3 separate regions of the Homo sapiens genome follow, and regions 2 and 3 are each linked to region 1. The links are contacts of gene promoters, found by promoter capture Hi-C in blood cells and fetal thymus (Javierre and others, 2016). All regions are on one chromosome and are shown on one strand. Each heading gives the region's core, a stretch centred on a gene start or on the middle of the fragment in contact. The rest is flanking DNA. Distances are from core to core; before and after follow the strand shown.

What was found. Contacts are between HindIII fragments. The CHiCAGO score rates a contact against its expected background, and 5 or more counts as called.
Region 2: a fragment that was not itself captured here is called in contact with the fragment with the promoter of SPR in region 1 in 3 of 17 cell types (fetal thymus, endothelial precursors and naive B cells); the score reaches 8.3 in fetal thymus.
Region 3: a contact is called between a fragment that was not itself captured here and the fragment with the promoter of SPR in region 1, in 1 of 17 cell types (fetal thymus). The highest score is 6.4, in fetal thymus.

What each region holds. Positions count from the first base shown.
Region 1 is chr2:72,884,599-72,889,399 of GRCh38, forward strand. It overlaps SPR (sepiapterin reductase), which reads left to right and starts at 2,810. Exons shown (of 3, transcript NM_003124.5): 1 at 2,810-3,138; 2 at 3,716-4,006. The coding sequence starts at 2,835. RefSeq lists silencers at 2,662-3,051, 3,690-3,864. The HindIII fragment of the contact is 9,789 bases long and covers 2,380-4,801 here.
Region 2 is chr2:73,136,000-73,140,800 of GRCh38, forward strand. No RefSeq gene overlaps it. Among named protein-coding and RNA genes, the nearest start is that of RAB11FIP5, 25 kb to the left of the region's middle. The HindIII fragment of the contact is 223 bases long and covers 2,386-2,608 here.
Region 3 is chr2:73,115,951-73,120,751 of GRCh38, forward strand. No RefSeq gene overlaps it. Among named protein-coding and RNA genes, the nearest start is that of RAB11FIP5, 5.4 kb to the left of the region's middle. The HindIII fragment of the contact is 1,524 bases long and covers 1,461-2,984 here.

The DNA.
Region 1 (4,801 bases), core at 1,560-4,059:
GATTCAATTAACCTTCCACTGGGTCTCTCCCATGACACATGGGAATTGTAACACATGGGAAATATAATTCAAGATGAGATTTGGATGGGGACACAGCCAAATCATATAACCTGCCAATATTTATTATCTGTCTGTTTTATTTTAGCCATCTTAATGGATATGAAGTGGTATCTTATCGTAATTTTGATTTGTATTTCCCTGATGGCAAATTATGTTGAATATCTTTCTATGTGCTTATTGACCATTTGTGTAATTTCTTTGGATAAATGTCTGTTCATATACTTTGCTCACTTTTTCATTTTACTTTTGACTTATAAGTATGGCTTTTTTTTTTTTTTTTTTTTGAGGTGGAGTCTTGCTCTGTCACGCAGGCTGGAGTGCAGTTGTGAGATATTGGCTCACTGCAACTTCTGCCTCCTGGGTTCAAGCAATTCTCCTGCCTGAGCCTCCTGAGTAGCTGGGACTACAGGTATACGCCACCACGCTCAGCTAATTTTCATATTTTTAGTAGAGACAGGCTTTCACCATGTTGGCCAGGCTGGTCTTGAACTCCTGACCTCAGGTGATCCACCTGCCTCAGCCTCCCAAAGTATGACTCATTTCAAAAACTTTGTTATTTAGAAATAATTTCAGACTTTTACAAAGTTGCAAGAATAGTATAAAGAATTCCTGAATACTTTTAATGCAGATTTCCTAAATGTTAACATTTTACCTTTGCCTTATTCATTCTAATTTTTTTCTGAAACATTTGAAAGTAAGTTGCAGATATGATGCCCCTTTACTAAATACTTCTGTGTACTTCCAAAAACAAGAACACTCTCTGATATAACAATAGTTCACTGGTCAAAGTCAGGAAATGATTCAATGCCAATAACTAACCTACAGACCTTATTCAAATTTCACCCATTCCCCTACCCATGTCCTTTATCAGGCTTATGTTTTTAACACAATTTTTACACATTTCTTACCTTTCAGGCATTTGTATCTTTTTAAAAGAGTTACTGTTGGCCAGGTGGGGTGGCTCACACCTATAATCCCTGCACTTTGGGAGGCTGAGATGGGAGAACTGCTTGAGTCCAGTTCAAGACCACACTGGGCAACACAGCAAGAGCCATCTCTATAAAAAAACACAAAAATTAGCGAGAGCAGATAATCATCTTCCTCAGAAAAGAAGAATTTTCCAGACCCTCTCCTAGTATAGGAAAACCACGTTCTCCTTAGGGGCTGTTCCCAAGTGGTTCCTCCTAGAAGCAGCTAGGTTCAGAAGAGTCTAGGTCTGATTTTTTGCCATCCCTTCATTGTTCCCTCCTTTTCTTCAAAAATCTGGCAAATGGTAGAAATTTAACAAATGTCAAATGAATGGATGGATGGGATCGTGCTTTCATCAACCTGTCTTCTAAGGCCTGGAGAGCAGGGAGAAGCTATTAAAATTCTTTAAATAGTAAGCTGTTGGGCCAATGAGATCTTTATCTTCAGTGTGAATAGGTAAGTGAAAAGCAGGGCAACTTCAAATGGTATACACATATACAGAGTCTTATCAGCGTTAAAATACCAAAAGCTTAAAAAACAATTAGCCAGGCGTGGTGGTGCGCACCTGTAATCCTAGCTACTCAGGAGCCTGAGGTGGAAGGATTGCTTGAGCCCAAGAATTCAAGGCTGCAGTAAACTGTGATCACACCTCTGCACTTCAGTTTGGGCCACAGAGCGAGACTCTGTCAAAAAAAAGAAAAAAGAAAAGAAAAAAGCCTTCCTCCAAGTTGTTTCTTCCTTAGAGTTGGCAATAATAGTGGAAAGGCGGTAACTTTGCTGTTTAGCCCCAGGGGAGGGATCAGCCCTGTGGGGAATTGGGCTAAGTTATCAGAGGTTACTTACTGCCCTTGCTAAACTCTAAAGAGATTCGTTTTTTAAAAACTGACACACAATATTTGGACATATGTATATACACAATGGAATACCACTCGGCCACTAAGAAGGAAACCATGAAGAGATTCCTTTTTAATATATGTAGCTGCATGCCAACTTGTCTCACGTTCCTCCTCTCCTAGAAAAAAAAAAATGTGGATTTTTCTGAAGCACCTGCCTGGAGGTACAGACAGATGATTGCGCAAACTTGAAGCTGAAAGTGGATGGAATTGCTGCCAGGGAGACTGTAGCATGAGCAGGAGCAGAATCCTGGGGAACACACTTTTAGGGACAGGAGTCAGAAATCTCAGAGAAGCAGGGGTTACTGGTGGGATCACGGAGCTGCTCAGGGCCTAGTAAAAGGGAAAGGTTTTAATATCATTTGGAGCCACTGTGGTTCTCCCAGAGGAAGCTCCTGTCATCCAGAGAGCGGTGAGCTCCCAAACAAGCAGAGACTTCAATTCCTAAACAGGCATAAGCTTCATTCAGGGTGTTCACTGGCCACGACCAGGGACGCCCAGCACCCAGTGCAGGGCCTGCCCTGGAAGAGGTCAGTAGTGCAAAGTTAGGGCTGGAACTGGGAGGAAATTCGAGCATGCGTCCCAGCCGGAGGCTGAGCTTGCGGGCGAAGAACACGGCAGCGCTGGGAACCGGGCTAGGGCTTTCCGTGTGGGCCGCGCCTGCCGGCCCTCTCTGTTGTCCCACTTGGCACGGACTGGGCTACCGCCACGGTTTGACTTCCGCCACCAGCAACCAAGGGAACCAGATCCCAAGGGAACCAGCACCCCTGGGCGCTCGCGGCCCGAAGCCTGAGGTTCCCGCCCCGCCCCGGCAGGGCGGCCCCGCCGACACCCGTAGCGGTCCCGCCCCCCGCGGCCGCACCGCCTCCTGCCTGGTCTCGGGTGCCAGCGCCGCCGGCGGAGAACAGGAGCATGGAGGGCGGGCTGGGGCGTGCTGTGTGCTTGCTGACCGGGGCCTCCCGCGGCTTCGGCCGGACGCTGGCCCCGCTCCTGGCCTCGCTGCTGTCGCCCGGCTCCGTGCTTGTCCTTAGCGCCCGCAACGACGAGGCACTGCGCCAGCTGGAGGCCGAGCTGGGCGCCGAGCGGTCTGGCCTGCGCGTGGTGCGGGTGCCCGCCGACCTGGGCGCCGAGGCCGGCTTGCAGCAGCTGCTCGGCGCCCTGCGCGAGCTCCCCCGGCCCAAGGGGCTGCAGCGACTGCTGCTTATCAACAACGCGGGTAAGACCCCGGGGCTGGAGCGGACTCCCCATGTGAGCGCCCACTTCCTCCACCGCTGGGGAATTTAAGGGCTACTCCTAGGGGTCAGATAGGACGCCTAGAAATCTAAAGCCCTAGTTGTTCCAGCTTGAGTAGCAAGTGGAGGCGAGGTGTACAGGAAGACTCGGTGCCGTCGGGACAACAGTCTGCCCCCACTTCCTGGAAAATTGGCCAGCCGGGTTTTCCAAAGCGCCTGTAGAACTTTCCCGAGCCCCTTGCTCTGCGCCCTCTGGCGGAGGCCTGAGTCAGGGCTTGGAGTCTCCAAACAAGTAAACTCTCTGCTTCTCCAAAGGACCGCTAGAGCTTTCCTTCAGCCCCACGGCAAGGCAGGTGCCTTCTCATTCTGCAGCTTGGGATGGCTAGGTTCCCCAGCTGTGTCTTTCCGCAGAGCTGGGGAAGAGAGAAGCCTCTTCAGAAGCGCTAGGCAGCTTCCTCCTCTAGGTCTGCATGGGAAGAGGATATCTGGAGGAACTTGGGAGGGCTGGGGAAGAAGAAAGCCCCGCCTGCACTGAGTTACTCCTAAGGGTTGGTTTTTCAGGCTCTCTTGGGGATGTGTCCAAAGGCTTCGTGGACCTGAGTGACTCCACTCAAGTGAACAACTACTGGGCACTGAACTTGACCTCCATGCTCTGCCTGACTTCCAGCGTCCTGAAGGCCTTCCCGGACAGTCCTGGCCTCAACAGAACCGTGGTTAACATCTCGTCCCTCTGTGCCCTGCAACCTTTCAAAGGCTGGGCGCTGTACTGTGCAGGAAAGGCTGCTCGTGATATGCTGTTCCAGGTCCTGGCGCTGGAGGAACCTAATGTGAGGGTGCTGAACTATGCCCCAGGTAGGTGGGAAGTCCTGCCGTCCCTGTCCTCCAGAACCCACTGGTGCGCCTCTGGGGGCTGGGCAAGCGGCCTAGTCCGCCCCCTCCAGGAAACAACCCACAGGATTTTGTCCTTGAATCTTGACCCATCACCCCTTAGGGGAAATACAGACCCAGGGGAAATAGAGGTGGCAGGGGCCGGGGATACTGGTAGAGAGTGAGGAGTTTCCTGGACTGGAGGGTGGGGCAGGAAGGTCTGAGGTATTAGATGGAGTTTGGGAGAAGACTGGGGTTTGAGTTCCAGGCCTTCCTCATGTGAAATGGGGAAGACGCTCCCTGCCTCACAGGGCACTTGGGAAGACTGAATGAGATACTGTATGTGAAAATGACCCTGACCTGTGAAGTGTTGCCTCATTGTTAAATAGGACTGACCACACTGTATTGTCTGCATATGTTTGCTTGCCTCCTTCCCTCCCTTGACAGGAAAGCCTTTGCACTATGCAGATGTGTGTTCCTAACACCTAGCAAAGCACTACACTAAGGCAAGCTGCAGGACATGCTAGCTGTATGGAGAGCAGACAGACTTTGTTGAGTGCTGACCATCCCTGGCTGAACTGTGCTGGAACACTATTGAGGATTCTGGGATAAATAGAATAGATCCCTTGCTCTCATGAACGCCAAAGGACAGGGAGTCTTGTGATACTGGGTCTAGTTTCTGATGCCACAGCGCCCCTGTCTTAATAGTGAGGAGTCTCTTTTAGGCTTGAGGTTGCTGCAATCAGAAGGTGGTGACAGAGCAGCCATGGAAAGCCTGAG
Region 2 (4,801 bases), core at 1,247-3,746, 250 kb after region 1:
AGTCAAAACATCCATGAAAACATCATCTTTGCTACTAGGACCCTGTTAGAGGCAGAAACTAGCATGACAGATTTTCCCCCAAGTGGAATAGTAAAATATACCCAAAATATCCTAATACTCTGGGCCATGATCCTATGATTTTTTTTTTTCCAACGGCTTGATTGAAGTTTAATGTATACACCATAAAACTCATCCATTGTGAGTACACAATTCGATTATTTTTAGTAAGTTTATAGTTATGCAATTATTACAACAATCCAGATTTAGAATATTTTCATCACCCCAAAAAGTTCCCTCATGGTTATCTGCAGTTGGTTCCTACTACCAGATCCAGCCCAGGCAGCCACTGGTCTACTTTCTCTGTATAGATTTGTCTTTTCTGTACCCTTTATATAAATGGATCATACAATATGGCCGGGCGTGGTGGCTCACGACTATAATCCCAGCACTTTGGGAGGCTGAGGTGGGCGGATCACTTGAGGTCAGGAGTTTGAGACCAGCCTGGCCAACATGGCGAAGCCCCATCTCTACAAAAAATACAAAAATTAGCTGGGTGTGGTGGCGCATGCCTGTAATCCCAGCTACTCGGGAGGTTGAGGCAGGAGAATAGCTTGAATGTGGAATGCAGAGGTTGCACTGAGCCGAGATCACGCCACTGCACTCCAGCCGGGGCAACAGAGTGAGACTCTGTCTCAAAAAAGTAAAATAAAATAAACAAAATAAACAAACAAAACATATATATAAGTAAATGGGATCAACAATATGTAGTCTTTATGTCTGGCTTTCACTTAGTATAATATGTTTTTGAGGTTCTTCTGTGTCACAGTGTATATTAGTAGTTCCTTCTTTTTCATCTTTTTTAAATTATTATTATTGTAGAGATAGGGTCTCTCTATGTTGCCCAGGTTGGTCTTGAACTCCTGGGTTCAAGGGATCTTCCCACCCCAGCATCCCAAAGTGCCGGGATTATACGCATGAGCTTCCACGCCTGACCTTTTTACTAAAAAGTAGTTCCTTTTTGGCCGAGCGCGGTGGCTCACGCCTGTAATCCCAGCACTTTGGGAGGCCGAGGCACGCAGATCACGAGGTCAGGAGATCGAGACCATCCTGGCTAACACGGTGAAACCCCGTCTCTACTAAAAATACAAAAAATTAGCCCGGCGTGGCGGCGGGCGCCTGTAGTCCCAGCTACTCGGGAGGCTGAGGCAGGAGAATGACGTGAACCCGGGAGGCGGAGCTTGCAGTGAGCCGAGGTCGCGCCACTACACTCCAGCCTGGGTGACAGCGAGACTCTGTCTCAAAAAAAAAAAAAAAATTAGCCGGGCGTGGTGGCGGGCGCCTGTAATCCCAGCCACTCAGGAGGCTGAGGCAGTAGAATTGCTTGAATCCGGGAGGCAGAGGTTGCAGTGAGCCAAGATCGCGCCACTGCACTCCAGCCTGGCGACAGAGCAAGACTCCATCTCAAAAAAAAAAAAAAAAAGCAGTTCCTTTTCATTGCTGTGTTCTGTCGTGTGAATATACCACATTACCACATTTTGTTGATCCATTAACCTGTTTATGGATATTTGGACTGTTTCCTGTTTGGGGTTATTATGAATAGTGCTGCTCTGAATATTCATGTACAAGTCTTTGTGGACATATGTTTTCATTTCTTTTGGGTAGATACCTAGGAATGGTAAGTTTTTCGTTTTAACTTTTTAAGAAACTGCCAAACTGTTCTTCGAAGTGGCTGTAACATTTTACATTCTCTTTTTCTTTTCCTTTTTTCTTTTTTTTTTTTTTTTTTTTTTTTTGAGACAGGGTCTCCCTCTGTCGCCCAGGCTGAAGTGCAGTGACACAATTTCAGCTCACTGCAACCTCTGCCACCTGGGCTCAACTGATTCTCCTGCCTCAACCTCCCGAATATCTGAGACTATCATGCGCCCCCACACCCGGCTAATTTTTTTGTATTTTTAGTAGAGACATGGTTTCACCATGTGGGCCAGGCTGGTCTCAAACTCCTGACCTCAAGTGATCCACCCACCTCAGCCTCCCAAAGTGCTGGGATTACAAGCATAAGCCACTGTGCCTAGCCCATTTTACATTCTCATCAGAAATGTATGAGGTATCTGGTTTCTCCACATCCTTACCAACACTGTATTAAATATCTTTTCCCACTGAATTGCCTTGGCCAAAAATAAGTAGACCTTACATGTGAGGTCTGAGCTCTAAATTCTAGTCCATTGGCCTGTATGTCTATCCTTATGCCAATACCACATTGTTTTGATTACTGTAGCTTTGTAGTAAGTTTTGAAATCAGAAAGTGTGAGTCCTCCAGTTTTGTTATTTTCCAAGATCATTTTCACTATTCCAGATCCTTTGCATTTCCATATTAATTTTAGAATAAGCTTGTCAATTTCAGCAAAAATGGCAACCAAGATTTTGATAGGTATTGAAAGGGGAAAACAAACAGGTTTTCTATACTCAAAAACACTTCCGAAACCAAATGTCTGGGATTTTTTTCCCCGCACATCAAGCAATTCTTCAGTTCTCTGCAAACATCAACTGGGTGTCCAATGACTCAATTCAACTCTGACAGTAGCTACCTGGAGTTAGTGTGAGACCCCAAAGCTTAAGGGCTCAGTCCCACAATACTGCCCCTGACTTCAAATGCCAATCTCAAGTAATGGGTCCCCAGGTTACCCACACTTCTGTGTGACTTAGCTACAAGTGAGGGTTTCCTACAACCACCTATTCAGATTCAATAATCTGCTGTAATGGCTCGCAGAACTCAGGGAAGCACTTACATGTACGGTTTATTATAAAGGATACAACTCAGGAACAGCCAAATGGAAGAGACAGGGTATGAGGAGGGAGGGGCACAGAGCTTCCATAGCCTTTCAGGCCTCGCACCCTCCCAGCACCTTAATGTGTTCACCAACCTGGAAGATCTCCAAACCCTGTCATTTAGGGTTTTTATGGAAGTCCCATTATGTAGGCATGATTTATTAAATCATTGACCTTCTGTGACTGACATTAATCTTCAGCCCTTCTCCCCTCCCCAGAGGTCAAAGAGATGGGGCTGAAAATTCCAACCCTCTAATTACAAGGTTGGTTCCTCTGTCAACCAGCCCCCATCCTCCAAGAGTCACCTCATTAGCATAAACCCAGGTATGGTTGAAAGGGGCTTATTATGAATAACCAAAGGTGTTCCTCTCACCCCTATCACTCAGGGGAATCACAAGACTTTTAGCAGCTCTGTGCTAGGAACCCGGGGAAGAGACCAAATATATATTTCTTGTTATGTCACAGGATTGCATTAAATTTGCAGATCCATTTGGGCAATATTACAATATTGCTATCTTAACAATAATAGTTTATCTGTTTTGTTTTGTTTTTAGAGATGGGTCTTGCTATGTTGCCCAGGCTGGCTCAAGCAATCCTCCTGCCTTGGCCTCTCTAAGTGCTGAGATTACAGGCGACAACAGTAGTTTGTTGTTGTTTCTATATACAGGATCACGTCATCTGTGGGAAAAAAAGACAGTTTTACTTCTTTTCCAATGTTGATGCCTTTATTCTTATTTTTTGGCCTTATCACACTGACTTGAATCTCCAGGACAATGTTGATTGAAAGTGGCAAGAGCTGACATTCTTGCCTTGTTCCTGATCTCAAGGAGAAACATTCAGTCTTGCATCATTATATGTAATGTTGATGGTAGGTTTCAGTTAGATATGCTTTATCAAGTTAAGAGAGCTCCCTTTTATTCCAAGTTCAAGGGTTTTTTTTTAACCATCAATGGATGTTGGATTTTGTCAAATGTTTTTTCTGCATCTGTTGAGATCATATGATTTTGTCCTTTATTTTATTAATACAGTGATTCATCTTAATTGGTTTTCAGATGTTAACTCAACCTTGCTTTCCTGGGATAAAGCCCACTTGGTCATGGTATACGCTTCTATGTATGTGTTGCTGGGTTTTATTTGCTAATTTTGTGCTAAGGATTTTTACATCTGTGTTCAAAAAGGATGTTGGTCTGTAGCTTTCTTTTCATATGATATCTTTGTCTTGAATCAGGGTAATACTGGCCTCACAGAATGAGTTCGGAAGTGTACTTTCTTCCCCTATTTTCTGAAATAATTTGTGAAAGATTGGTATTATGTGTTTTTAAATTATTTGATAGAATTCACTAGTAAAGTGTTCTGTGACTGGGTTTTTCTTTGTGGGGAGATTTTAAGTACTAATCCCATTATTTACTTGCTATAGGCCTATTCAGACTTTATTTCTTCTTGAGTCAGTTTTAATAATCTGTATCTTTCTGGGAATTTGTCCATTTCATCCAAATTGTTCAATTTGTAATATTTCCTTGTAATTATTTTTGTTTCTGTGTGGTCAGTAGTGATTTTGTAATTTATGTTTTCTCTTTCTCTTGGTCAGTCTAGCTAAAAATTTCTCAATTTTGTTAACCTTTTCAAAAAACAGACCTTTTGTTTTATTGATTTTTCTCTATCATTTTTCTGTTTTCTATTTTTTTTTTTTTTTTTTTTTTGAGACAGAGTTTCACTCCTCTTGCCCAGGCTGGAGTGCAATGGTTCAATGGTGCGATCTCAGCTCACTGCAACCTCTGCCTCCCAGGTTCAAGTGATTCTCCTGCCTCAGCCTCCTGAGTGGCTGGGATTACAGGCATGCGCCACTACATCTGGATAATTTTGTATTTTTAGTAGAGACTGGGTTTCTCCATGTTGGTCAGGCTGGTCTCGAACTCCCGACCTCAGGTGATCCACCCGCCTCGGCCCTCCAAAGTGCTGGGATTACAGGTGTGAG
Region 3 (4,801 bases), core at 973-3,472, 230 kb after region 1:
ATATACATTATGGTTTTTGAGACATCTAAAGTATAATTATTAAATCTGTGGGCTTTGGAGTCCTGGTTCTACCATTACTTTATATATATTATCACTCTTGGCTATAAGTCTGTATACTAAAGAAAAAGTATATACATATAATACTTACACACACACACACACACACACACATAGTCATGTTTAACCCTGAAGATAACCATTTAAAGCAAGTGCTACCCTTGGTTTCACTGATGAGGAAACAGAAGCAGGAAGAGCTTGGGTGATTTTCCCCAAGTCTCCAACCGGAAAATTGTAGAGACTGAGTGGCTCTACTGGCTGTGGTACTCTGCTCTCACACCAGCTTGTTGGTCAGCCAAGCACTAGATCCATTTAAAGTCAATAAAGAAGGAAGTGTTCTCATACCCATTTTACAGACGAAGATTGAGGCAACCAAGGTTACAAGAGTCAGGATGAACCTCCCACTTTAAGAGTGAATTCTTCAAGGACTTTGCAAGTGACGATATCATCACTAAACTTCAACTAACATAAATGTGTCACTCCTTCAGCGGGTCTGTTTCATCTGTTTGCCTGTTCTCCAACGTTACTGCTCCTACCTCCTCCCTCCCTCCTCCTCCGCCAAGGAGGAGCAAAGCACCAGGAAAGGGGAAAAGGTGGAGAGCACTCAGATGGCTCCTCTGCCTCACCTGCCCTCTGGCTCTCTTTCCTCCTGCCTTGGCCCTCACAGATTGGCAAGCTCAAGCTTCCTGCTGGCTCTGGACTGTGGCTGGCTATAGGAGGGGAACGAAACCAGCCAGGGCTCCCACCCCACGTTGCCTGGCCCTAGAAGGAAAAGCCAGGTCTGCTAGCTGTCTGTGGTTGAGAAAAGAGCAGAAACACCAGATACTGAGGTCTTGGCCATCTAAAGGTGTGTTTCCTCCTCTATAAGATGAGATCCCCCCCACTCCCTGCAGCAGCCTGCATAAGAGTTAGACAAGAAGACCCCAAAAGCATCAGTTTCCTCTGCCTCCCCAGGGCTGGGTGTCCTCACTGCCTTCCTGGGCCTCTCTAGTCCATTGGAGACAGTTCTTGCTTGAAAAGCATCCACCTATGTGTAGCTTCCACTCATTGCCCCCTCTTCAGTACCACTAAGCCCATTTGCTTTTCCATGTAGACACTTCACATGTATTTGTCCTGCTCTTCCAGCTACATTTCCCTCTGTTCTTCACCTCACCTTCCTGCAGCTATTTTCCAGGCCCTCTTTATAGCAGAACCACATGCCCAGGTCTAAGCCCTGGTGCCACCACTTACTAACTGTATAAGCATGGGCAAATTACTGAACCCTACTGAGTCTGTTTCCACCTCTGTAAAATGGGCCTGCTAATAAGAAATTACCTCATAGGGTTAGTATGAGAGCTATCTCAATACACCCTAAGCAGTAATGAGCATGAATTATCATCTTAGAACTCTTTGCTGAAGGCAAAAGCTTCTGCCTCCTTGTTGTTTCATTTGCATTTCTTTGATTGCCAGAGAGATTGAACTTCTTTTCAGTTATTAGTCATTTGTATTTCCTTCTTTAATGAATTGTCTATTTTCTGAATTGCCTATTTTCTATGCTTGTTTTTCTTTGAAGCCTTAATTTCTTATTATTTATACAAATGCTTTATATGTTAAGAATAGTAACATGGCCAGGCACAGTGACTCATGCCTGTAATCCCAGCACTTTAAGGGGCTGAGGAGGCAGGATTGCTTGAGTCCAGGAGTTTGAGATCAGCCTGGCCAACATGGTGAAACCCTATCTCTAAAAAAAAAAATACAAAAATTAGCTGGGTGTGGTGGCACATGCCTACTGAGGTGGGAGGATCACCTGAGCTTGGGAAGTCGAGGTTGCAACAAACTGTGATCATGTCACTGCACCTCAGCCTGGGCATCAGAATGAGGCCCTGTCTCAAAAGAAAAAGAAAAAGAAGGCCGGGCACGGTGGCTTATGCCTGTAATCCCAGCACATTGGGAGGCCGTAGGTGGGCGGATCACAAGGTCAGGAGATCGAGACCATCCTGGCTAATACGGTGAAACCCTGTCTCTACTAAAAATACGAAAAAATTAGCCGGGCGCGGTGGCGGGCGCCTGTAGTCCCAGCTACTCAGGAGGCTGAGGCAGGAGAATGGTGTGAACCCGGAAGGCGGAGCTTGCAGTGAGCCAAGATCGTGCCACTGCACTCCAGCCTGGGAGACAGCGAGACTCCATCTCAAAAAAAAAAAAAAAAAGAAAAAGAATAGTAACACTTTGTTGTTCATATTTACTGCAGGTTTTCTTTTTTTAATTTAATTTAATTTTTTTTTTGAGACAGAGCCTTGCTCTGACACCCAGACTGGAGTGCAGTGGCACAATCTCAGCTCACTGCAACCTTCACCTCTCGGGTTCAAGCGATTCTCCTGCCTCAACCTCCCCAGTAGCTAGGACTATAGTGTGCACCACCACATCCGGCTGATTTTTGTATTTTTAGTAGAAACAGGGTTTTGCCATGTTGGTTAGGCTGGTCTCAAACTCCTGACCTCAGGTGATCCACCCCCCTCAGACTACCAAAGTGTTGGGATTACAGGTTTTAGCCACTGCTCCCAGCCTGGATATGTTTTCGATATAAGACATTAGGTAGGCTGAGTGCAATGGCTTATGCCTGTAACCCTAGCACTTTGGGAGGCCGAGGCAAGAAGATTACTTGTGAGCCCAGGAGTTCTAGACCAGCCTGGACAACGTAGCAAGACCCTGTCTCTTTTTAAAAATTATTTTTAAATTAGCTAGGTGTGCTAATGCACGCCTGTAGTCCTGACCACTGAGGGGGTTGGAGTAGGTCTGAGGCAGGAGGATTGCTTGAGCCCGGGACGTCCTGGCTTCAGTGAGCCATTATCACACCACTACACTCCAGCCTGAGTGACAGAGCTCAGGCCCTGTCTAAATAAATAAATAAAATTAGATAATCAAATCTTTGAATTCTTTCCATTGTTTTAAGCTTGAGTTCTTCCAAACTTACAGGTCCAACAATATTCATTTGGATTTTTTCAAGTTTTTAAGTTGTTTGGATTTTTGTTTGTTCTTTTATTCTCTTTAAATCCTGCTAGCAACCATTTTGATGAATGATTTCAGGTAAATATCTAACCTGCTTTCCCCCAACAGCTATCCAAGTTTCCCAATATTTATTGCAAAGCCCTATCCCTTAGCCATTGGGTTTATCATATAAGTTTATATATATATTTGTAGTGAAGGGGTGGCCTGCCCCTCCACACCTGTGGGTATATCTCATCAGGTGGGACGAGAGACTGAGAAAAGAAATAAGACACAAAGTATAGAGAAAGAAAAGCGGGCCCAGGGGACTGGCGCTCAGCATACCAAGGACCTGCACCGGCACCAGTCTCTGAGTTCCCTCCGTATTTATTGATTATTATTTTCATTATCTCAGCAAGAGGAATGTGGTAGGAGAACAGGGTGATAATAGAGAGAAGGTCAGAAAAAAAACATGTGAGCTAAAGAATCTATGTCATAATTAAGTTCAAGGGGAGGTACTATGCCTGGATGTGCACGTAGGCCAGATTTATGTTTCTCTCCGCCCAAACATCTCAGTGGAGTAAAGAATAACAAAGCAGCATTGCTGCCAACATGTCTCGCCTCCCGCCATAGGGTGGTTTTTCTCCTATCTCAGAACTGAACAAATGTACAATCGGGCTTTACACCGAGACATTCAGTTCCCAGGGGCAGGCAGGAGACAGTGGCCTTCCTCTATCTCAACTGCAAGAGGCTTTCCTCTTTTACTAATCCACCTCAGCAGAGACCCTTTACGGGTGTCGGGCTGGGGGACGGTCAGGTCTTTCTCACCCACGAGGCCATATTTCAGACTATCACATGGAGAGAAACCTTAGACAATACCCAGCTTTCCAGGGCAGAGGTCCCTGCGGCTTTCCGCAATGCATTGTGCCCGTGGTTTATCGAGACTAGAGAATGGCGATGAATTTTACCAAGCATACTGCTTGTAAACATTTTGTTAACAAGGCACATCCTGCAGAGCCCTAAATCCCTTAAACCTGGATTCCATACAACACATGTTTTTGTGAGCTCAAGGTTGGGGCAAAGTGGCTGGGGCAAAGTTACAGATTAACAGCATCTCAGAGCAAAACAATTGTTCAGGGTACAAGTCAAAATGGGATTTCTTATATCTTTGCTAGGGCAATTTGGCAAAAAGAATAAATAAAATCATCTAGATTGGAAAGGAAAAGTAAAGCAATCTCTATTTGTAGACTACATGATCTTGTAAATAGAAAATCCTAAGGAGTCCACTAAAATCTGTTAGGGTGAATAAACGAGTTCAGCAAGGTTATTAGGGTACAAGATCAACACATTCAAATCAATTGTATTTCTATACACTAGCAATGAACAATTGAAAATAAAATTAAGGAAACAATTCCATTTATTTATTTATTTATTTATTTATTTATTTTTATTTATTTTTTGAGACAGAGTCTTGCACTGTCATCCAGGCTGGAGTGCAGTGGCGCTATCTCAGCTCACTGCAAGCTCCACCTCCCAGGTTCATGCCATTCTCCTGCCTCGGCCTCCCGAGTAGCTGGGACTACAGGTGCCCGCCACCACGCCTGGCTAATTTTTTGTATTTTTAGTAGAGGCGGGGTTTCACCATGTTAGCCAGGATGGTCTTGATCTCCTGACCTCGTGATCCGCCCGCCTCAGCCTCCCAATAAGTGCTGGGATTATAGGCGTGAGCCACTGCGCCTGGCCGAAACAATTCCATTTATAATAACTTCAAAAAATAAAATAC